Linked DNA regions of Homo sapiens: all the other regions are linked to region 3. The links are contacts of gene promoters, found by promoter capture Hi-C in blood cells and fetal thymus (Javierre and others, 2016). All regions are on one chromosome and are shown on one strand. Each heading gives the region's core, a stretch centred on a gene start or on the middle of the fragment in contact. The rest is flanking DNA. Distances are from core to core; before and after follow the strand shown.

Region 1 (5,267 bases), core at 646-3,145, about 11 Mb after region 3:
GCATTTCTCTAAGGATCAGTGATATTGAGCTTTTTTTCATGTTTGTTGGCTGCATGTATGTTTTATTTTGAGAAGTGTCTGGGCATGTTCTTTGCATACTTTTTAATTGGATTATTTGTTTGTTTCTTGTAAATTTGTTTATAGGCGTTGCATATTGGACCTTTGTCAGATGCATGGATTGCAAAACTTTTCTCCCATTCTGTAGGTTGTCTGTTTACTCTGTTGATAGTTTCTTTTTTGTGCAGAGCTCTTTAGTTTAATTAGATCCCATTTGCCAATTTTTGTTTTTGTTGCAATTGCTTTTGGTGTCTTCGTCATGAAATCTTTACCATGCCTATGTCCTGAATGGTATTGCCTAGGTTTTCTTCTAGGGTTTTCATAGTTTTGGGTTTTACATTTCAGTCTGTAATCCATCTTGAGTTGATTTCTGTGTATGGTGTAAGGAAGGGGTCCAGTTTTAATTTTCTGCATATTCTAGCCAGTTCTCCCAGCAACATTTATTAAATAGGGAATCCTTTCCCCCATTGCTTGTTTTTGTCAGGTTTGTCAAAGATCAAATGATCATAGGTGTGTGGTCTTATTTCTGGGTTCCTCTTTTCTGTTCCATTGGCCTATGTGTCTGTTCTTGTACCAGTACCATGCTGTTTTGGTTACTGTAGCCCTGTAGAATAGTTTGAAGTCAGGTAGCATGTTGCCGCCAGCTTTTTTCTTTCTGTTTAGATAAATCAAAAAATTTCTTTAAAGGACTGAAGATAAAGCAGAAATCAACCACACAGAAAACAAACAACAAAAAAAAACAGTTGGTTCCTTGAGAATATAAAATCTGACAAATTCAAGTGAAAATAAAAGAACAAATAAAATACATTAAGAATTTTTTGGAAAGAATACGATCATAAATATGGAGACATTTTTTTAAATTGAAAGAAAATATATATAAATATATATACAATTATAATACTTACTCTCATTCCCTTGTGTGACATGCTTCTAGCCAATAGAATATAGCAAATATGAATATAACACAATCGAATAGAAAAGAATAGAATAAGGAATAGATACAGAATAGAATAGATTACGGTCACTCTCATGATTACTTTACATTATATAAGACCACCTTAGGAGACAAGAGTGAGGGATTCTCCTGTTGGCTTTGAAGAAGCAAGCTGCCATGTTGTTAGAGGATCTTTGAGAGAACCTGCAAGGAGGCCATATGGCAAGGAACTTCAGGGCCTTTGGGAGGTAAGAGGAGGCCCGATGTGACAGCCCACAAGAAACAGATATCTCAATCCCACCACCATAAGGAACTTAATTTTGCCAATGACCAAGTAAGCCTGGAAGAGTACCCCTGAGCTCCAGAAATTAAGGCAGTTCAGTCAATCCTATGTAATCATTTCAATGGATTCCCAATATAGATTTGGTTAAATTCAACACCCATTACTAAAAATACATTTAGCTAACAGGGAATAGAAGAAAACTGCCTTTACTTTATAAAGGGTACAATTCAGAAAATTATGGCAAATATCGTATTGACCAGCTCACAAAGAACAAGAAAAGGAAATAAGAATTATAAATGTTATGTTATTTGTTCTTTTGCAAAATTAGCACTTCTGTCTGCCTTGAAAATTATAGAGAATCTGGCAAAGACTATTAGATCTAATAAATAAATTTAATAAGGTAGCTGAATAGCTAGCTATCCTACCCATCAGTTAGAAAACATAATGACCAAGGCCCAGGGCAATGGCTCACACCCGTAATCCCAGCACTTTTGGGAGCCTGGGGCAGGCAGATTACCTGAGGTCAGGAGATTGAGACCAGCCTGGCCAACATACTAAAACCCCGTCTCTACTATAAATACAAAAATTTTCCAGGCATGATGGTGCACATCGATAATCCCAGCTGCTCAGGAGGCTGAGGCACAAGAATAGCTTGAACCCAGGAGGCGGAGGTTGCAGTGAGCCGATATCAGGCCACTGTACTCCAGCCTGGGCAACAGAGCAAGACTTTGTCAAAAAAAAAAAAAAAAAAAAGAAAAGAAAAAGAAAGAAAATATAATGGTCAAAAAATTTCATGGATGATGACCACAAAAATTATTATGCATCTCGAAATAAACTTGAAATATGTGTAAAACTAAAACTTAGTAAACCACAAAAATTATGAAAGAACATAAAGAAACACACATGGCTAGACATACCAGGTTCCTTGATGCAAAGTCTGAATAGTGTAAAAATGTCAATTATTCAAAAAATTAATTAATTTGATACACTTTCAATTTCAATTAAAATTGTAATAGCGTTTTTAATGAAGCTCGATCACTGATAATAAAGTTCATCCAGAAAAGAAAATATGAAAGAATAGCCAATAGATTTTAGAAAAACAGCAATTAGGTAGGACTTACCCTATATCAGAATATGATATAAAACTTTATGGTATGGTATTGTTACAGGAATAGGCAAATAAATAGTGACAAGACAGATGTGATTATGTACAGGGCAACATTTAAAATCACTCTGTGATGTAAGGATATAATTCTTTCCCCATAAACAACTGAATTTCCAACATCATTTATCAGTTTGCTTTTTCCCCTTGCTCTCCATTCCCATTTATAACAATTCCCTGTCTTCTTTCTTCACTCCAGCTTTCCCTGCTGCATCAGTTTGCTTTCATACTGTATCTGTCCCTCCATGTCCTCATGAACTTGCTTTATATGGAAGTAAGGAACACCTCATCATAGCAGTTTTGGTTTGATTCCAATGAGATCTTTTTTTTCCATCCATAGCAATTTAATCAATACAACAGTTGTCCATCTTGGCCCCAGCTACAGAAGGTAGTCTTGATAATTTGGCACAGGGAAAAAAAAGTGAAAAGATGCAAAGAACAAGCAAATACTCAAGAAATCATTTTCATTTCAAAGATTATGAAAGATTATGAAAATAAAGAATATAGAACAGGGAATTCCAGAAGGACCCCAGAAAATATGTGAAAAGCAAGTTGTAACCAAAGCATTTTACCTTAACTGGTAAACCCAACTCAATAACTCCAGAGCTAGGGTCTGTGTTTGTTCTCTCCGTCTGTCTGGTCCTTTCTCCCTTTGTAACTGTCTCTGATTCTTTTCTTAGCAGCCATGGTGTAACATAATGATTACTAACCAGCTTGGCATCAGACAAACCTGCATCTGAATCTTGGTTCTATCACTTCCTGACTGCATAATTTTGTGGTAAGCTCCTTAAATTTTCTGGTATTCAGTTTCTTTATCTGTAAAATGGAAATATAACAATACTACTTATTTCATAGGGTTGTTGTGAGATATGATCCATTTGAAAGCATAAGTCTTGTCATACAGTAAACATTCAAAAACTATTAGCTATTATTCTTTTATATAACAAAATACTAATATAATAGGAAACATTTTAATAATTATAGTTTAGGTTTGATTGGCACTTTATGGCTTAGAAGTTAGTATCTTCAGATTCCTTATTCATTAACACATTATTGCAATACTCTGTAGTATTATACCCAACTATACATATTTAAGAGAACCATTTAGCTGCCTGAGGCTGTTTTTAAAATGGTGAAGGATACTCTGGGAAGTATATGAAGTGTCCTTGCTCATAGACTTTTTGGATTAGTTTCTTATTGTCAATCCATGACCTTGCAGGCACAGCTCTGCCTTTTTATTCTGGTAGTCCCACCTTTTGTTAGCTTCTGTCTCCATTGTCCCTAGGAATTGCACACAGCCACCCCTAAGCATCAGTGCACACAATCCTCTGCCGAGTTTCATTTCTGTTGGATGTGACACTGTTAGGTGAGGCAGGGAGGCAGGTGTGGTAGACAGAAGTCTATGACCCCCAATGACCCTAAACAGGGAACCCAGTTAAGCCTGCTTTGGACTTCTAACCTACAGAACCATAGAATAATAAATAGATATTGTTTTAAGCCTCTAAGTTTGTAGTGATTAGTTGTGAAGCAATAGAAAATGAATACAGCAAGAATAAAGTTGGGGATTAAGAGGGTGGTGGAATGAAGAGGGATGGGTAAAGAGACCGGGAGAATGGGATATAGCTATTATAGAAGTCATTGCAGGTCAGGTGGTGGTAGAGGTTTAAAATGATCGGAAAGAGTCTGGTTTTTATTTTCTCTGAGTGAAGGTCTCTTGAGTGGAAATTAGAGAGCCATAGGTCTCTCTTAGAAAGATGACTGACAGCTACATAAAGGATGTTTTAGAAGAGAAAGACCAGGTAAGGTGCTGTTATTCTCATCCATGTGGGAGGTTAAGTTTTTTGGTCCAATTTTCTTAGGGATATCTATTTAATAAGAGGTCTTTGTAGTGGCACTGCTTAGATATGACTTCCACTTGAGCTGGACAGATAGACAGCAACAGTAACCTAAATAGTGGGATTTGAGATTCAGAGGCTGAATAAGTATAGTCATCTATTTTTTCTCATTCCACTCTTGGTGTAGTTAATCCTTTTTAGAGCTTTTGATTCCATAGAAGCTCAGGATGTATGGATGCAATCTTGTTCACTTAGAGGTTCCCAACCCACAACCATGGGCACAGTAGCTCTTATATGTCCAGAGAAGGCTTCCAGAGAAGTCTCCAGAGAAGGCTAAAAATATGACGTCTGTCTACAGCTCTCAGCAGTGTGATCTAGTAAAAGAGTATGTGAAGTTCCCATTTTCATCAAAAAGATAATTCATGTACCTAGCTAGCTGCATTTTGATAAGTGGTCTTAATATATTTACTGTAAGAAATTATAAGTATTTATGCAAGTCAGAGAGAATCTTGTTATTTAGCAATGCAGCTTTGTTAGAAATCTAATGGTAGTCTTCTAAAAAATAACTTTTGATTATGAAAATTTCAAACACATTTAAATGTGTAGGGTTTAGTACAACAAATCTCCAGGTACTCTTCATCCAGTATCCATAATTACCAATTTATGGCAAATCTAATTTCTTCTATATACTTTCCCATTTTCTACCTCACTAGTCATTATTTTTAAAAAATCCTTCTTTTAGTGATACATCTTATTATTCTAAGTACATCTTACCAAAGACAAGGACTGCTCTTTTAAAACATAACCACAAAATAACATTAGTCTTGTTCAAAGAGCTGTGAATGAGAAAAAGGTACAGATTTTTGGATGGGTTCACACTCAGAAATTTTTTTCAAGTGTTTTCAATGAATCTGAGTAATAAAGTCATAATGTGATTGCTAAACACTCTATGTACAGGAAGCTCTTGAAACTATGTTTCACTCTACTCAGCACACT
Region 2 (5,261 bases), core at 918-3,417, about 12 Mb before region 3:
TTAGAATTATTGCAACATTAACGTTTATCTTCATTGTCATTGTCTCCCATAGAACCCACAAAACTAAACCTTGAGATCCATGGGCCTGCTAAAAACAGTCCCAAAGTAAATGACAAAAATGTTTAATTGCCAATAATTAGGTAAGAGAAAAAGGACAGTTAAATATCAGGGTAGTTCTAGCTGAATGAAATCTTTTAGAATTACACTAAAAAGTAAATGGTAAGTTACTAAGTTTGGAACTTCATCTCAAAAGAAAAAAAACCATGAAGATAACACAATGCTAAAATGTGGCCTGTCAGTGTAAACTGTCAACATTCTCCACTATAAAGAACTGAAACTGGGTTGAGGTTAGTAGGTCTGAACAAATCGTGTCCCACTAAGAGCACATGGGTTCTTCCTTGAGTCACTGCCGAGGCCCTGGCACATCTGAGATTTAAAAGATAAATATCAGATTAACTGGGAAAGATACAGTACAGGCAGATCACTTGAGCCCAGGAGTTGACCAGCCTTGGCAACATGGCAAAATACAAAAATTAGCCAGGCGTGGTGGCAAAAACCTGTGGTCCCTGCTATTCAGGGAAGATCACTTAAGCCCAGAAGTCAGGACTGCAGTTAGCCGTTAACTTCCACTCCAACCAGGGCAGGAGTAAAACCCTGTCTAAACAAAAAAAGCCAAGCACTACCTTGAAATCAACTGAAGTTAGCTCTCACTTTTGAAATCCACTCCAAAATTTGTAACCAATTCCAACATAGTAACTGTTAAAAGAAATGCCACTTCATCTTAAAGCTTAAAATTCATTTATTGTAGTGAGCAAGTTTGTAATGAATACCAGCAGGTGGTGCTCAAGCCACAGTTGTCTAAGACACTGGGTTTCACAGGAAGTTAATCTCAATCTCAGTATATGCAAGTAAACTGACTCATTCCTGCTTCCAGTGGGAACAATTTTTCAGTTAAATCTTGCTTCCTTGCATGTCAAGAATTCTCTACTGGTAAATCTTACAGGTGTCAACTTTCATTATCAGGGCATCTATTGGCCATCTATTAAAGGCCTTACCTGTTTTTTCTGTCATCCAGCAAATCTTAGACTATTTACTTGTGTAAACATTAGATAGCAAAGAAACTAAGGACAAAAATCTCTAGTTCAATTTAGACTTGATACCTCAGAGCACTGGCTGATGGGAAGGCATTTTATCTAATTCAGACTCAGATGAGGGAAAACGATAACACTTCATTACAGACTTGTCTATGGCCAATTCAAGTACCTTTGAATCTTGAGCAATACACATTGCCAGTCACTTTAAGAGGCCTTATCTCTTGGGCTGCTTTAACTCCTGCTTAGCATGTCCTTAAGAACACATGTCCTGGCCAGGCATGGTGGCTCATGCCTGTAATTCCAGCACTTTAGGAGGCCGAGGCGATCACCTAAGGTCAGGAGTTTGAGACCAGCCTGACCAACATGGAAAAACCTCATCTCTATTAAAAACACCAAATTAGCACATGCCTGTAATCCCAGCTACTTGGGAGGCTGAAGTAGGAGAATTGCTTGAACCCAGGAGGAGGAGATTGCAGTGAGATTTTGCCATTGCATTCTAGCCTGGGCAACAAGAACTCCATCTTAAAAAAAATTTTTAAAAACCATCACACAAACAGAAAGCATGTCCTTTAATTTTACCTATCCTTCAAACTTAAGCAAAAATTTTCCTTTTATAACCAAAAAAAAACCTTTAGACACTTTTACATATGGGAGGTCAGGCACAGTGGCTCATGCCTGTAATCCCAGCAGGAAGATCGCGAAAAGCATTTTTCAAATGCACAAATGCTTAAAGATTCAGGAGTAAGTGGGCTATTACACCTGTTAAGCCTATTACCATGTAGTTTCATTCCTAGTGACCAAGTAGACAAACTGCTAATTATCAAAGCATAAAAGGTATTAGACTCTGCAGGAGAAAAGCAATGTAGATTAGTCTAATTTTATAGCTACTTCAAATTGCCATCTTTTTCTATTAGAACCTTGTTCCTATTCTGAATAGCACTCAATAGAACTTGTGAAACCATCAAACTGGCATAAAGCTTACTCCACTGACTTCAAAATGGACCCTTCCACTCATAGGGTGTACACTAGCCACTACACTTATTTCTTATGTCATGGCAAATAGTCAACTTTCACTGCCCAGTCATTTTAACCCACGTTTCAACATGCACATCCCAGTAATTTGGAAACATTTTGTTTCCAAAGATTCACTTAACATTGGTTTAGCAACATGAAGCTTTCTATGCAACACAAGGACTCAGTTTTTGGCCTGTTTTAGTGACAGGCAATCAGCAACATGCTGCATTTCTCTCCAGTGTTGTAATCAAAGCAACCCTCCCATAGCTTTAAATGATATTCCTTCCCCTTCCAATTATGTGGGGGGAAAACAACCCTATTCTCCACCCAGAAGTGTTAACTCAAGAATTACATTTTCAAGAAGTTTCCAGATTCGTAAAACCAGAATTAGATGTCTTTCACCTAAATGTCTCGGTGTTGACCAAAGGAACACACAGGTTTCTCATTTAACTTTTTTAATGGGTCTCAAAATTCTGTGACAAATTTTTGGTCAAGTTGTTTCCATTAAAAAGTACTGATTTTAAAAACTAATAACTTAAAACTGCCACACGCAAAAAAGAAAACCAAAGTGGTCCACAAAACATTCTCCTTTCCTTCTGAAGGTTTTACGATGCATTGTTATCATTAACCAGTCTTTTACTACTAAACTTAAATGGCCAATTGAAACAAACAGTTCTGAGACCGTTCTTCCACCACTGATTAAGAGTGGGGTGGCAGGTATTAGGGATAATATTCATTTAGCCTTCTGAGCTTTCTGGGCAGACTTGGTGACCTTGCCAGCTCCAGCAGCCTTCTTGTCCACTGCTTTGATGACACCCACCGCAACTGTCTGTCTCATATCACGAACAGCAAAGCGACCTATTAAAAAAAAAGTTAATTATTACCCAAAGTACTGTTCAGTTGTATTTTTCATCTTTAACACAACTTTTTTACATTTAAGTAGTCATCCTTACCCAAAGGTGGATAGTCTGAGAAGCTCTCAACACACATGGGCTTGCCAGGAACCATATCAACAATGGCAGCATCACCAGACTTCAAGAATTTAGGGCCATCTTCCAGCTTTTTACCAGAACGGCGATCAATCTTTTCCTTCAGCTCAGCAAACTTGCATGCAATGTGAGCCGTGTGGCAATCCAATACAGGGGCATAGCCGGCGCTTATTTGGCCTGGATGGTTCAGGATAATCACCTTGGAAAAAAGATTTGCATTCAGTGCAAATCCAAAGTCTCAAATGACTTTAGCCTCTGCAATAAGTTAATGTTACTTTAAATTGTTACCTGAGCAGTGAAGCCAGCTGCTTCCATTGGTGGGTCATTTTTGCTGTCACCAGCAACGTTGCCACGACGAACATCCTTGACAGACACATTCTTGACATTGAAGCCCACATTGTCCCCAGGAAGAGCTTCACTCAAAGCTTCATGGTGCATTTCGACAGATTTTACTTCCGTTGTAACGTTGACTGGAGCAAAGGTGACCACCATACCGGGTTTGAGAACACCAGTCTCCACTCGGCCAACAGGAACAGTACCAATACCTAAAAATATTTACAGCATACTAAATACCTATGAAGGCAGACAGTACTCTATCAACTCAAATTCAACTTTGTTTACAGCCAACTTACCACCAATTTTGTAGACATCCTGGAGAGGCAGGCGCAAGGGCTTGTCAGTTGGACGAGTTGGTGGTAGGATGCAGTCCAGAGCCTCAAGCAGCGTGGTTCCACTGGCATTGCCATCCTTACGGGTGACTTTCCATCCCTTGAACCAAGGCATCTGAAACACAAGCATGCCAATTTGTGTAAGCATGAAATCGCCATTCCCAGAGCTTTTTAACAATGGTCTTGAAAGCCACTTACGTTAGCACTTGGCTCCAGCATGTTGTCACCATTCCAACCAGAAATTGGCACAAATGCTACTGTGTCGGGGTTGTAGCCAATTTTCTTAATGTAAGTGCTGACTTCCTTAACAATTTCCTCATATCTCTTCTGGCTGTAGGGTGGCTCAGTGGAATCCATTTTGTTAACACCGACAATTAGTTGTTTCACACCCAGTGTGTAAGCCAGAAGGGCATGCTCTCGGGTCTGCCCATTCTTGGAGATACCAGCTTCAAATTCACCAACACCAGCAGCAACAATCAGGACAGCACAGTCAGCCTTTAAAGAAAGCAAAGACATATCCCTGTCAACTCTCCAAATGACAAAACCAGTGTACAAAGCAAGCCTTTTGGGATAAAGAAACCTAGAATTATTAATCCCACCAACCTGAGATGTCCCTGTAATCATGTTTTTGATAAAGTCTCTGTGTCCTGGGGCATCAATGATAGTCACATAGTACTTGCTGGTCTCAAATTTCCACAAGGAGATATCAATGGTGATACCACGTTCACGCTCAGCTTTCAGTTTATCCAAGACCCAGGCATACTTGAAGGAGCCCTTTCCCATCTGTAAGGATTAAGAGTCGTTACTTGGTTACTAAAACACAAACTCCAGCTTCAATTTCCTTGTCCCCAGCCCTTAATTGGCAGTTTCCACTTTACAACTCCAAGTCCAAAGTGATTTTAGTCACTTTGGGTTACAGAAGCAACCAAAAATCAAACTTTTATAAGTCGGATCTTAACTATTAACATCCAAATCTACTCACTAGCAATACGATTACAGAAGTCACCAAAAGCAAAATTATTTCATAAGTAAGGTCTTAACTATTAGCATTCAGATCTAAACCACTCACTAGTTCTGGGGAAATCACCTAATGATTCTGCTGGTAAAACTCATTTTAGTTGATCTTTCCCTTTCTGGTATTAAACATACCTCAGCAGCCTCCTTCTCAAATTTTTCAATGGTTCTTTTGTCGATGCCACCGCATTTATAGATCAGATGGCCAGTAGTGGTGGACTTGCCCGAATCTACGTGTCCAATGACGACAATGTTGATATGAGTCTTTTCCTTTCCCATTTTGGCTTTTAGGGGTAGTTTTCACGACACCTGAAATGGAAGAAAAAAACTTTGAACCACTGTCTGAGGCTTGAGAATGAACCAAGATCCAAACTCAAAAAGGGCAAATTCCAAGGAGAATTACATCAAGTGCCAAGCTGGCCTAACTTCAGTCTCCACCCACTCAGTGTGGGGAAACTCCATCGCATAAAACCCCTCCCCCC
Region 3 (5,565 bases), core at 2,625-5,124:
ATCCCGGTCAACATGGTGAAACCTCACCTCTGCTAAAAATACAAAAATCAGCTGGGCCTGGTGGCACCCACCGGTAGTCCCAGCTACTCGGGAGGCTGAGGCAGGAGAATTGCTCGAACCCGCGAGGTGGAGGTTGCAGTGAGCCAAGATCACGCCACTGCACTCCAGCCTGGGTGACAGAGTAAGACTCTGTCTCCCAAAAACAAACAAACAAACAAACAAAAAATTAAGCCACCCCCTTGCAAAAAAAACTGAAAGCTAAAAGTCACAAACTAAAAGTTTAAAAACTTTAGTTCTAGCTCACCAATGCAAACTTGATTACAACTGAATTACAATGGAGACAACTATACTCCACTTTTATGGAAAAACTAGATTTACAGATCAAACTCAATTCACTCACAGCTAGATCTGTGAAAGCCTCCAATTCATGGTTGTCTTAAACAGCTAACTCCATATACCAACCTTTTCCATATTCTAGGCTTTCCCTGTTTCCACACCACTACAACAATGCTCAAGGCCTATACCCTTAACTGATTTTCTTAAACCATACGCTTGGCTCAAGAGCACTGGCACACTACAAAGCACACCAGGTTAAAAAGTAATACAATCACCACATTGTCTATAAATTAGAAAACTCACCAATATAAATATCAAAACCAAGCTGAATTTGAAGCCATTCACCATGATTTTAAACCAAAAAAAAAGCCTCCTCCTCCTAGCCTCAGTTTCTCATCTACATACCCACACTAAACAATCTTATTGTCAAAGCTGCTTTGAGAAATAGTCTAATAATCCATACTGATGGAAGTGGAGGGCAGCAGGGTTAACATTCTAAATTCATTGGGGTTTGAGACTCCTAAAAAAAAAAGCCAGTTGCCAAATGTACATTCTCCATCAGTATTTCAACTGTCAATAAGCTGGCTTTGCAGCTTTTCAAAAAATATTCTAGAGGTATCATGGGTGTGTTTCTTTATACTAGGACTACCAATAGAACAGATTTAAACATCAGTAGCTGGATAACATGATAAACTTCACAGCAAATTGCTTTAGAAACAAATAGTTTAAAAAAACTTAAAAAAAGGAATTAGGAAAGATTGATGAATTATCTCAACATCTAACATACATCCATTTCATACCCAAGGAATATTTACCAAAATTAGGAAACAGTTAAAATGACTTTAAAACTAAAGGGAGTATAGAAAGACATACCTTAATTTTTGCCTCATCTGGTCCTTTACTAGAATCTGCTACTTTGGTCCCTTGTTTTTCTCTCTGCCTGTAAGTCTTCATGACTCCACATAAAAAGGCACTTTTGTTCTGCAAAAAAATGTTCCATTAATATTTAACAATAACCATATCTGAGTCTAATAAAATTCAGCAGATAGTATCAAAACTACTCAAATTTTTTAATTTTCACATTGACATTAACATTACCTGAACATGAGAGAGATCACTGTCTTTAAACTGTTGAAGAACTGCCAATGCACCGTCTTCATTGAATTCTTTTAAAGCTTCAATAGCTCTTTCATCTAAATCACTATGTGCAACTAGCCCTGAAAAAAATAAAAGTTATCAGCTTTTAATATTTTTAGAAAAGATTTTTTAGAGAAGACTATGTTGGCAATACAGGTACATGTGTGCCTTTACAATTCTTCTACTCCCCTCATCTATACCTGAAAAAAAAAAAACACACACTTCAGCCACTCTGAACTGAATCCTGAACTAAATATGCCCTACCAACCACACTTACAATAATCAGCTAACTTCTTTTACATCTTTTATCTCCAAAGTCTGATAACTCTGAACACTACGGTATTTTTACAGTATACAGACTTACGAATCCTAGAATCAACCAACAAAGTACCAAGCATGACAACTGAACCTCTACTCAATTTCAAATACCACCAGAAAAAGTTAACAGCCGCACCAGAAAGACAAGAAAACAAGTCTACAGTTACCAAGTTATTTAAGAAGAATCCTACTATAAAAATACTCAAAAAAGTCACATGGCCTGTTCCCAACATTTAGCAGCTGTTGCTACTATCATATACTTATCCATCAGGCCAGCATGCAAGCCAGCCTTTAGCTCCTAACCTTCTCTTCTTCCCTCCCTCTATACATCTTAACCTCTACTTCAAACTTAAATTAACCAACTATCACAACAAGCAAAACTCCAGTACCCACACTTATTGGAAACCACAAAAAGTTGCTATTTTAGCTCAAAGCCAGAAATCCAATAGAAAAATTTCATAATGTAATTTTGCAAGTGTTAGTTCTTACCTGCAACGTAAATTTCATCTAGTTTTTCAGCAACTTTCTGTGGTAAACCAGCATCAAGCAATGTCTGAAAATTTTCTGAATGGATAACTGCAGAAGTAGTATCCATGGGCTCTTCAGTACCATTTCCATTAACATGTTCTGTAGCCATGTTTCCAGAGATCTGTTCAAACGCAATAAGCAAAATTAAACTAGGATCTTCAAAAAGAATACAAGACAATATGAGAGCCCCATCTTTACTTTCTCTACCATTTACTACACCAGCTAGCCTATACCTCCCTTTAAAAAAGCCTTACAGTCACTATCGCCTGACAAGCCAGATTTGGAGCACAGGGCACAGAAGGACCGATTCACCATATTCTTCCTCAGCACCACCCCTGACTCACCTGCTAACACTCCCTAGGAAAAACCATATTACAAATAGAGCCCAATCAGCACGGGTACGAGCCAGCGTGCCACATGCAGCTGTGCCCGTTCGGAAAATGAGGTGTGTGTGGAGAAAGCAAAACTGGGCTCCTCTCTCTCAAAGATAAACCCCCAAAGTGCGCGCTTTTCCCGCCTGCCGCTTATAGATCGGTAACAACAGCCAGCGAAGAACAAAGCGCTCATACAAGCCACCTTCCCACCACCCAATTTCTCCACCCTTTAACCCCGCACCCCAAAGCCCGCCCCTGACTCCGCACCCAGAGCGGCAGTCTCACCACTGCGGCCGCCAGGAGCCCATTAGAAACACGTGCTCTGCGCCTTCCAATGTCCTACAACTTCCTTCAACGGCAACCCAACGAATCCCAAACCAAGACGACCATCACTGGTTCCCAACATCAACCCGAAGCCGCGGTCGGAGCCCCCAGAAAGCTGCAGCAGCACAATCTCTCCCCTGAACACCGAGGCACCGGCGGCGCCAGGCCACAGGCTCTCCCCGCCCCCCAGCGCCGCCGTCTCCGCCGTGACACATGGCTCTCCGCCCCTGGCGCTCCCCGGGCGCCGACGACCCCCGGCCGCCCGCCCGGCCGAGACGTGACCCGTGGCGCGCTGTGCAGGTCCCCACCCCTTACCCTTCCGTGCAGTGACTGCGACGCCTGCCCGGCAACCCAGCAGCGTGAGGGCGTTCAGCGGACGGCTCAACGCCCGCGGGACCGTGAGCACCGCCCAAGCTCGCCGCACGGCTGCAGGACAAGACCCACTCCTCTCCGCCCACTCCCGCGCCGCGGCGACCGCCACGACAGCACCAACTCTGAAGCCGCTCGCGGTCCGTGCGGGCCACGGGACCGTGGAGGCGCCTCCTCCCAAAGCGCCGCAGACAAAGCCCGAACCGCAGCAGCACATGGAAAGGAGGAAGTGGCGGCGCGGGCCGCGGCCTACTCCCAGGCAGCCCCAGTCAACGTGCTCTTCTCCCCATTGGAATCCATTTTCCAGAAAAGCCGGTTTCTACCCGCGCCACCCTCCCCCAGCTCACTCCACAATGTCATGGAGCTCCCCTCCCACACCCAGGTTCTGGCAGTCGTTACCTCCCCGTTGGGCTGAGGCGGAGAAATCCTGTCCGATGGTATCGGGTTGCGGGAAACGCGTGCTCGCTGCTCCCTGTGTCCGGCGCGAGTGGAGCTGTTGTAAAATGGCGGCCGAAGCTCACGCCGCTGGCAGCAAACCCGATCCAGTTCCACTCGCCTCCGAGCGCGCTCCCGGTGCGCGCGCGCGCCCCCGCGTGACCCCCCCTTCCCTTCCCTTCCCTTCCCTCCCCTCCCTCGCGCGTCCGCTTCACTCACTCCCTCAGCCCCTGCCCTCCTCCAGCTCCTCCTTCTCCCCCTACCACCACCACCACCACTAGCCTCTGTCCGCCTTCTCTCGGCCTTTCTTATTCCCGCCCCCCGCTCCTTTACCCCACTGCTCCCACTCCCCTCTGCGGTCGCTCAGGCACGAGTGGCCGCCTTTCCCCTTCTGGCTCGCACGCTCCCTCACTCCCTCCCTCGCTCGCTCGCACTCTCGGCCCGGTCCCCCAGTCCCTGCCGAGTCGGCTCCTCTCTTTCTCTCTCCCGCGCTGACGTGACAACGTAGCCTACGCCTCGGGACGCGCGCCCGCGGGCTCCGCCCCCACGCCGCGCCGCCTTCCCCGCTCCTCACCCCTTGGGTTGGGGGTGGGGGAGGCACAAGACCCCGCCCTTCCGCTCCGACGGTGGCGGCCGAGGGGCCGAGACTGAATGAAAGGCCCGCCCCTTCCCCTCCCGACACTCCCCCTCCCTCTCCCCTCCAGGCGGGGCGGGCCGGCTCAGCGTGTCCCACTCGTTTTCCTTTGTCAGGAGACTGGCATCTCCCCACCCCGCCCCACCCCACCCCCTCCCCGCGACACCATGCGCACGCCACCCCCACCGAGCTCCCGCCCGCCCCATCCCTGCCCGGTCCGGGGCTGGCGGGGCAGAGTGCTGTGGGCGCTGAGTGCGACTGCCGCTTCCCGGAGGGCACCCACCGGTCTGTGCGCGCCCGGCCCCCGCCCCCGGCTCCGCGGCCGCGTAGCCGTTCCAGGCGGTGTCCACGCCGCTGCCACCGCCCCGCGCTCTCCTCCTCGGGAAGCTGCAGGCGCACGTGTCCCCCGGGGCGGGGCGAGGCAGACAATGGGGCCAAGGGGGAGGGGAGCGGCGCGGAGACCCGCGGACCTTTGGTCCGCCGGACTGGCGGTACTCGAGTGCGAGAGTCGCCCTTGGAGACTCGATCTCCCCAACTGGACAGTGGGCCCTCCTCGCAGCCGCGCGGCTCCGCTTTCACGGGAACCTTCGGCGAAGGGAGGGGCGCCCCAGGCTTGGACGCGGAAACCCCGGCTGCTTTTGAAGGGGGAACGGGGCTGGCTCCAGTGGAGCGAGGAGCGGCTCCTGCCTTGGGATGACACGAAGGCCAGATTTGGAAGCGAAACCGCCCGGTGGTGAAGGGTTGTGCAATACTCCGTTTCAGTCCCTGGCCTTTTAAGCAGTTAAGGGCTTCCTCCTGGCACAGTTTGAGCAACTTGAAACAGCACAAAGCTGCGTGGTTAGAACAACTTTGAGAAAAATGTCTGTGTTTCTTTTAAAAAAAACCTTGGCAACTAAATCTTCTGTGAAATGACGTTTCCTTTATAATCGTTTACTAGGTACAAGAAAGACAAGACAAAGGCATTTGAATTACAGACGCGATATGGATACTAATTTTATCCAGGGCAGCTGTAATGAAAAATAGAAACAATGTCCTTTTGATTAAAAAGCTTATTTTTAAGAGCTTACTGGTTCCCCAGATGAGCTCTGTGCTATGATAACAAATCAGTGG
Region 4 (5,544 bases), core at 444-2,943, about 11 Mb after region 3:
CCTCAGTCAGCAGCTATTGGTGTAAGACTCCTTTGTTGGATGCAGGGACAAGGCAAGGTTGGAAGAAGACTTCTTGCCTCTCAACATTAAGTGAGCCCTTCACATCAGTGGCCAACTGTTGACCAAGATGTTTAAGAAACACAGGTTATCATTGCTCTCAAGAACTTCCTTAGTTCTTAGATGTGATTCATTTCCCCTTTGTATCTGGAGCCTCATGGTTGACCTCAGGGATGGAAGCATATTGACAGTTTCAGGAGAGAGTCTTTCTATGTGGTGGAATAGCACCCACCAGTATCTCAGCTGGGACAGAGGGTCATCTCCCAGGAGCCAGCCACATGTCCCTCCTTGGCCAGTTTTGAGACCTCCTAAGGACAGTGCCAGGGTTAATAAGGCCTTTTCTTTAGGCAGCAGTCACTCATGGTGGCTTGAGTCACAGATCAGTACTGAAAATCTCTCACTGTTATTGCTTCTGTGGATTACAGTTAGGCTAGGGGTTGACACAGTAAGTGGATTGGGAGAGCAAAAGCAGGTGGAATCAGTTTCCTTGAGTTTTCACTCTGTAAGGAGTGACCTTGACTTCAGAACTCTGTGCCTAAGTCTCCTGTATAAATTGGGATAACACAGATAATCTCACTTTTCTCACATTGTCATCCATGACATAAAATTAGATATGTTAAGTGCTTTGTTTGTATTAAGAGTGCTCTGATACTGCTTTTGACTGGGCATTGTAGGACCTTGCGTCAGAAAATCATATATTTACCACTGTCCTGCAAATACGTGCACTCTAGAGGTTTGCAACAAGGCTGGTCCTCAGAATGACCTGAGGTTGTTTCGAAAATATAGATTACTGGATCTTCTATACTTACTGTGTGAGAATCTGCATTAGTATTGAGTCATTTGTGTATTAAGAAACTCCCATTGAGTAATTATGGTGATAGGTCTACTTTGGGAGATGTGGTCTAGAGTGCAGTGAGCTGCTCACACTCTGCTTCTTATTCCTACCTTCCGAGGACCAGCCAGGCCATCTGGATCTGGGCCTCAGCTTTCTTGTCATTGACACTTAACAACAACAACAAAAAAATAGCAAGTTAAATCAGTTCTGATGTCAGTGCTCTCCAGATACTCAGTGGACATTTAAACAACACAAACAATTCTCTACCAACCAGGTGCCCTGTCTGGGTAGAAGTCTTGATGTGTGATTAACATCTTTACTACTGAAACAGAGGTTATCATTTTCTACTAAAATTTGTGTATAACTAATTAGGCGGATTGCTGCAGAGAGCAGCTAATATCCTCATAGTTGTCCATATGGTAGCTCGGTTGATTAATAACATACATTTCTGCATAAGATAAAACTAAATACTTTTTAATTTTATACTTTTTAGATTTAGAGCATTGATAGTGATTACATGGCTTTATGTAAGCCAACTGGAGAATGCCATTTCCACTGTGGATATAATCTTATGGGTCATTGATTAACAGGTTAGTAGTGAACTGCTGCAGGATAGTATGGATATAGCACGATATGAGGAGCAGAGAGACTACAGTTTCAAATTGTAGCTTGATCTTTATTTTTGCGAGAGTTCAAAATGTGCTTTTGAATATTAGGCATTTTGAAGAGATATGCAATTGTTAAGCACCAGTATACAGATAAGAAGAAAAAGAAACCTTGCCATTAGACAACTTGGAAGGCATAAATGAATTGCCGACATCTACAAAAATGATCAAGGTTATGCATGGCAGGATGTTGCTTAATTGTAATTTTAAGAGAATTCATTTTGTGGTGTGTGACTAGCTGAGAGAAAGGCAGACATCATACTTAGGTTTGCCTGTCTATGGTAATTTAATTATTATTGACTATTGTGATGGCTTCCCTGATGTTGAGTTAGGTACAAACCTGCTCAATTCCTATTGCAGGAAACTTTTTAATACTTAATAATATTTTGACTTGAAGAAAAAGTCTTTTGACCTGAAGAATGACCATTTCAGGACTAGAATTGTTTTATTGAGTTACCTTTTCCCCCCATAAAGTAAGGTAAATGCTGTCTGTGGAACTTCGGCAAATTAGATTTTGGTTGGACTCTTCTGCCTTTTTTGTGAAGGAAAAGAGGAGGGGTCTGGGAGAAAAGAGGGAACACTAACTGTGAAACCGCGTCTATCATCAATTGATTTTGAACTTGCAGCCTCATTAGGTGGTTAGTATTGGGCCATCCAGCCAAAATTATCTTTTTGGCCATCTGTGCCAAATTATAGGGAGTAATAGCCTTGGGCACAGCTGCTGAGTCTAATGTGTATTTCTAACTTGTGTATTAATGATAATGACTGCATAGAGAAGTCCAGTGACCAAATGTGCAGAATAAATAAGAAGGAACAAAATATATGTAAATTTAGAATTAAAAGAAAGGAAAATCTCTGTTTTACATCAGGAAATGACAGTACATATTTATTTAAATCTCTATGCAATAATATGACCTTTTTCTACTCCATCTCTTCACAGTTTCTCCTAAGGAGAAATAAATCTTAAGAGAGATTGGCTTTGAATTTTGGTCCTTCTATGTGGTGCTTCTTGAATTTGCTCTGTGATAGGACACGGGTTTTATTACTGTATCCCAACATTGATTGGGCCTTTTCTCAGCTCAGCCTGTCCCTTTAAGAGAATCACTCAGGAGTGACTGACTGCCTTTGGTGTCACTGTACTTTTTGTTGGTCAGCTGGGGCCAGCAGTAGGACCTTTATAGGCAGGCTAAGTCTAATGTCACTAGAAATATAATTAAGAAATTATAAGAAAATGAGATATTCCATAATCCAATGACTAAGGATAAAGAATGCTAAGAATCAGGATTTTAAATAGACATGTCTACATTTTGCATGGCCGTTCATTTCTCTAAAGTATCTTAACTAATGAATATATTGGAAGGAAACCTACCTTATAGTGAAGGAAGCCTTTTAAAAACTCACCCAAAGAAAGTGAAATGATTTGGCACATAGAACATAGTAGCATAGTTCCCTATACATGCTTTACAATTTTTTTTCCTTCAAGCCTACCTCATCCAGAGCCTCTCCATTTTTGGTTGTTCAGCACCCAAACCTTGGAAACATCCTTAGCTTCTTCCTCTCACAACTTACATCCAAACAGTCAGGAAATTCTGTTGGCTCTACCTTCAAAGTATACCCAGAATCTGACCATATGTCACAACTTCCCACTACCATTCTTGTCCCAGTCAACATTACCTGTTGCTTAAATCATTGCAGCAGATCCCCAGAAGGTCTTCTTTGCCTCCTATAGACTCTTCTCCACACAGCAGCCAAAAATTTTGTTTTAAAACCTGAATGAGGCTATATTTCTTTGCCTAAAACTGCAGCAGCTTCCATCCCAAGAACCAGACCCTGTATACCATCTATCCCTCTCTTATCTCCCATTGCCTTGCCCATTCCTGCCTTAGAACTGGTGTCTCACAGTTGGTAATACCCTCGGCCTGGAATGCCCTGCCTCCTGCCTACCCGCAGGCCCACTGTCTTACCTCCTTCGGGTCTTTGCTCAAATGTCACTTTCTCAATGAAGTCCATTGTGATCACTGTGCTTAAAATTACAACCTGCCCACCACCCCAACCCCTTCACTCTCAATTCATCTTACCCTGTATTTTTTTCCCCACAGCTCTTATCGATTAAAAAAAAAAAGTTTTACTGAGGGAAAACTTACATATCATTAAAGTTCACCCATTGTAACTGTGTACAGTTCAGTAGTTTGTAGCAAATGTATAGCGTTCTGTAGCCACCAACACAATCCAGTTTTAGAACATTTCTGTCACCGCAAAATGTTCCCTCATGCCCATTTGCAGTTATTCGCCACCCCCTCTCCATCATAGGTAACCTCTGCTGTGCTTCTACATCTGTACATTTGCCTGTTCTAGACATTGGCATATTTGTCTTATTTGCTTAGTGCTTAGCATGTGTGGTTCAAAAGATGAAGGAGCTGCATATTTGTTAAATTTGGATATTACCATATTTCTTGTGTGTGTGTGAACTTATTTGCAGATAACTAGCGTCAGGACATGGGGAAATTGGACAGAAATGGAAGAGAGATGTAGGGGTGCCTGTACTCCATCCATGTGTGTCTGTCGGGCAACAATCCTGAGGTTCTCTGGGTGTGCCTCCACTGCCCTGTCCCCCTCAGGGAGATGAGCTGACTCCTCACACGTTTTCTATTAATGAATGATTCCATGATTTCTTCATTCAGTTGTGGAGGAGAGCATGGAATCAATGTGTACTCCTGCCTCAATATTCAGTCATCAGGGGCTCTCAGCCTCTCCTTCCACTTCCTCCCGTGTCCCCCTCTACCCTCCATCCTCACAGCTGCCCTTCTGCCTTCAGCTTCCTTACAGCTTCTCTGTGCCACTTTCTTTATCCTTCCATCCCTTCCTAGGGACTGTTGTCACTAATATCTTTAGAGATGTGGCTTCCATCATGTCACTCTTCTTTCTAAAAACTTCTGGCAACCCTTGAATACCCATAGCTTGATTGGTCTCAAAAAGCATTTCTCCACCTGCCTTCTAATTCTTCCCCAATGTGAACCGTGTCTCCTTCTCAGACTCTGTAAATAAACACACTCTCAGGAAATACTGATTCCTTGACAACCTTTAGTGTTATGTATTTCTGATTCCTAAGCCTCTTTGTCAAGTAATGAATAATTTAAAACAAACAAACAGAAAAACCCTTAAAGCCCCTAGGAGTTGACTATTTGAAGAAATCCAGTAACTTATCTGTATATGTTTTCCTAAGTCTGTCATTCTCAAAGCATCACAGCTCCAAATTTGCTGTATATTTACCAAGGGTGTCTCTGGCCACCAGAGTAGTGAAGTTATAGTTACAAGATAATTCCATAGTGGAAAAAAAAACAAATGTGTGGTTCAGGCTCACCAGCATCAGGATCAGACTTCAGTTCCACTAGGTTCCCTATTGTTCCCTGCCAGAGGGTCCTGGGGTCCCTGGCCAGGTGGTACTGGGGCAGGGCTGGGCCCCACAGTGGACACCTTCTCTTCTGGGCTCCACCTTCCGGCATGCTTCTCGTGTCCTGCAGATACCTCATCAGCATTCTCTGTGCTGCTGTTGCTGCTTCTGACTGCTCTGGTCCTCCCTGATGACCAGTGGTATTAAGGCTGCCTGTGGACCACACTGTTCACCAGCCACTGGCCTCCTCCACAGCCAGTGGGCTTTGGCTGCTTGTAGCTTCCTTTCTCTCTTCCTGCAGCAGCAGCAGCAGCAGCAGGGGATACATAGATGGAATGGATTTGGAAATAGACGGGCCTAAGCTTGAATCCTGGTTCTTTCATATACAAGTTATTTGGTCTTGGGAAAGTTACTTATTTCTTTGAACCCCAGTATTGTGCTCTGGGGACAGTTACACCCACCCTGCAGTATAATCATGTGACCCACATGCAGTGATGTATGTAAGTTTCATTGTCTAGTGCCTGACACAGACTCAGCACCCAGTACGTTTTTGTTGTTGACTGTTATGATATTCTAAAGTGAACTGCAGGGGCCCA

What was found. The method cuts DNA at HindIII sites, captures the fragments that hold promoters and counts their contacts. A CHiCAGO score of 5 or more calls a contact.
Region 1: a fragment that was not itself captured here is called in contact with the fragment with the promoter of SYNCRIP in region 3 in 2 of 17 cell types (non-activated CD4 T cells and naive CD8 T cells); the score reaches 10.3 in non-activated CD4 T cells.
Region 2: a fragment that was not itself captured here is called in contact with the fragment with the promoter of SYNCRIP in region 3 in 2 of 17 cell types (total CD8 T cells and naive B cells); the score reaches 9.0 in total CD8 T cells.
Region 4: a fragment that was not itself captured here is called in contact with the fragment with the promoter of SYNCRIP in region 3 in 2 of 17 cell types (naive B cells and total B cells); the score reaches 9.8 in naive B cells.

Annotation. Positions count from the first base shown.
Region 1 is chr6:96,902,333-96,907,599 of GRCh38, forward strand. It overlaps a transcript of KLHL32 not described here. Among named protein-coding and RNA genes, the nearest start is that of NDUFAF4, 7.1 kb to the left of the region's middle. The HindIII fragment of the contact is 8,724 bases long and covers 1-5,267 here.
Region 2 is chr6:73,514,969-73,520,229 of GRCh38, forward strand. EEF1A1 (eukaryotic translation elongation factor 1 alpha 1) reads right to left here. Exons shown (of 8, transcript NM_001402.6): 2 at 4,915-5,088; 3 at 4,369-4,548; 4 at 3,964-4,260; 5 at 3,730-3,880; 6 at 3,386-3,642; 7 at 3,062-3,296; 8 at 782-2,966. The coding sequence starts at 5,058. The coding sequence ends at 2,842. Among named protein-coding and RNA genes, the nearest start is that of EEF1A1, 3.4 kb to the right of the region's middle. RefSeq lists a silencer at 358-652 and enhancers at 4,402-5,224, 5,182-5,261, 5,225-5,261. The HindIII fragment of the contact is 197 bases long and covers 2,070-2,266 here.
Region 3 is chr6:85,639,012-85,644,576 of GRCh38, forward strand. It overlaps SYNCRIP (synaptotagmin binding cytoplasmic RNA interacting protein), which reads right to left and starts at 3,875. Exons shown (of 11, transcript NM_006372.5): 1 at 3,786-3,875; 2 at 2,281-2,440; 3 at 1,435-1,553; 4 at 1,210-1,317. The coding sequence starts at 2,428. RefSeq lists silencers at 2,925-2,974, 3,195-3,344, 3,935-4,954. The HindIII fragment of the contact is 3,992 bases long and covers 1,510-5,501 here.
Region 4 is chr6:96,933,386-96,938,929 of GRCh38, forward strand. The region is part of intron 1 of KLHL32 (kelch like family member 32); the gene reads left to right. Among named protein-coding and RNA genes, the nearest start is that of KLHL32, 11 kb to the left of the region's middle. RefSeq lists a silencer at 55-255. The HindIII fragment of the contact is 7,230 bases long and covers 1-5,308 here.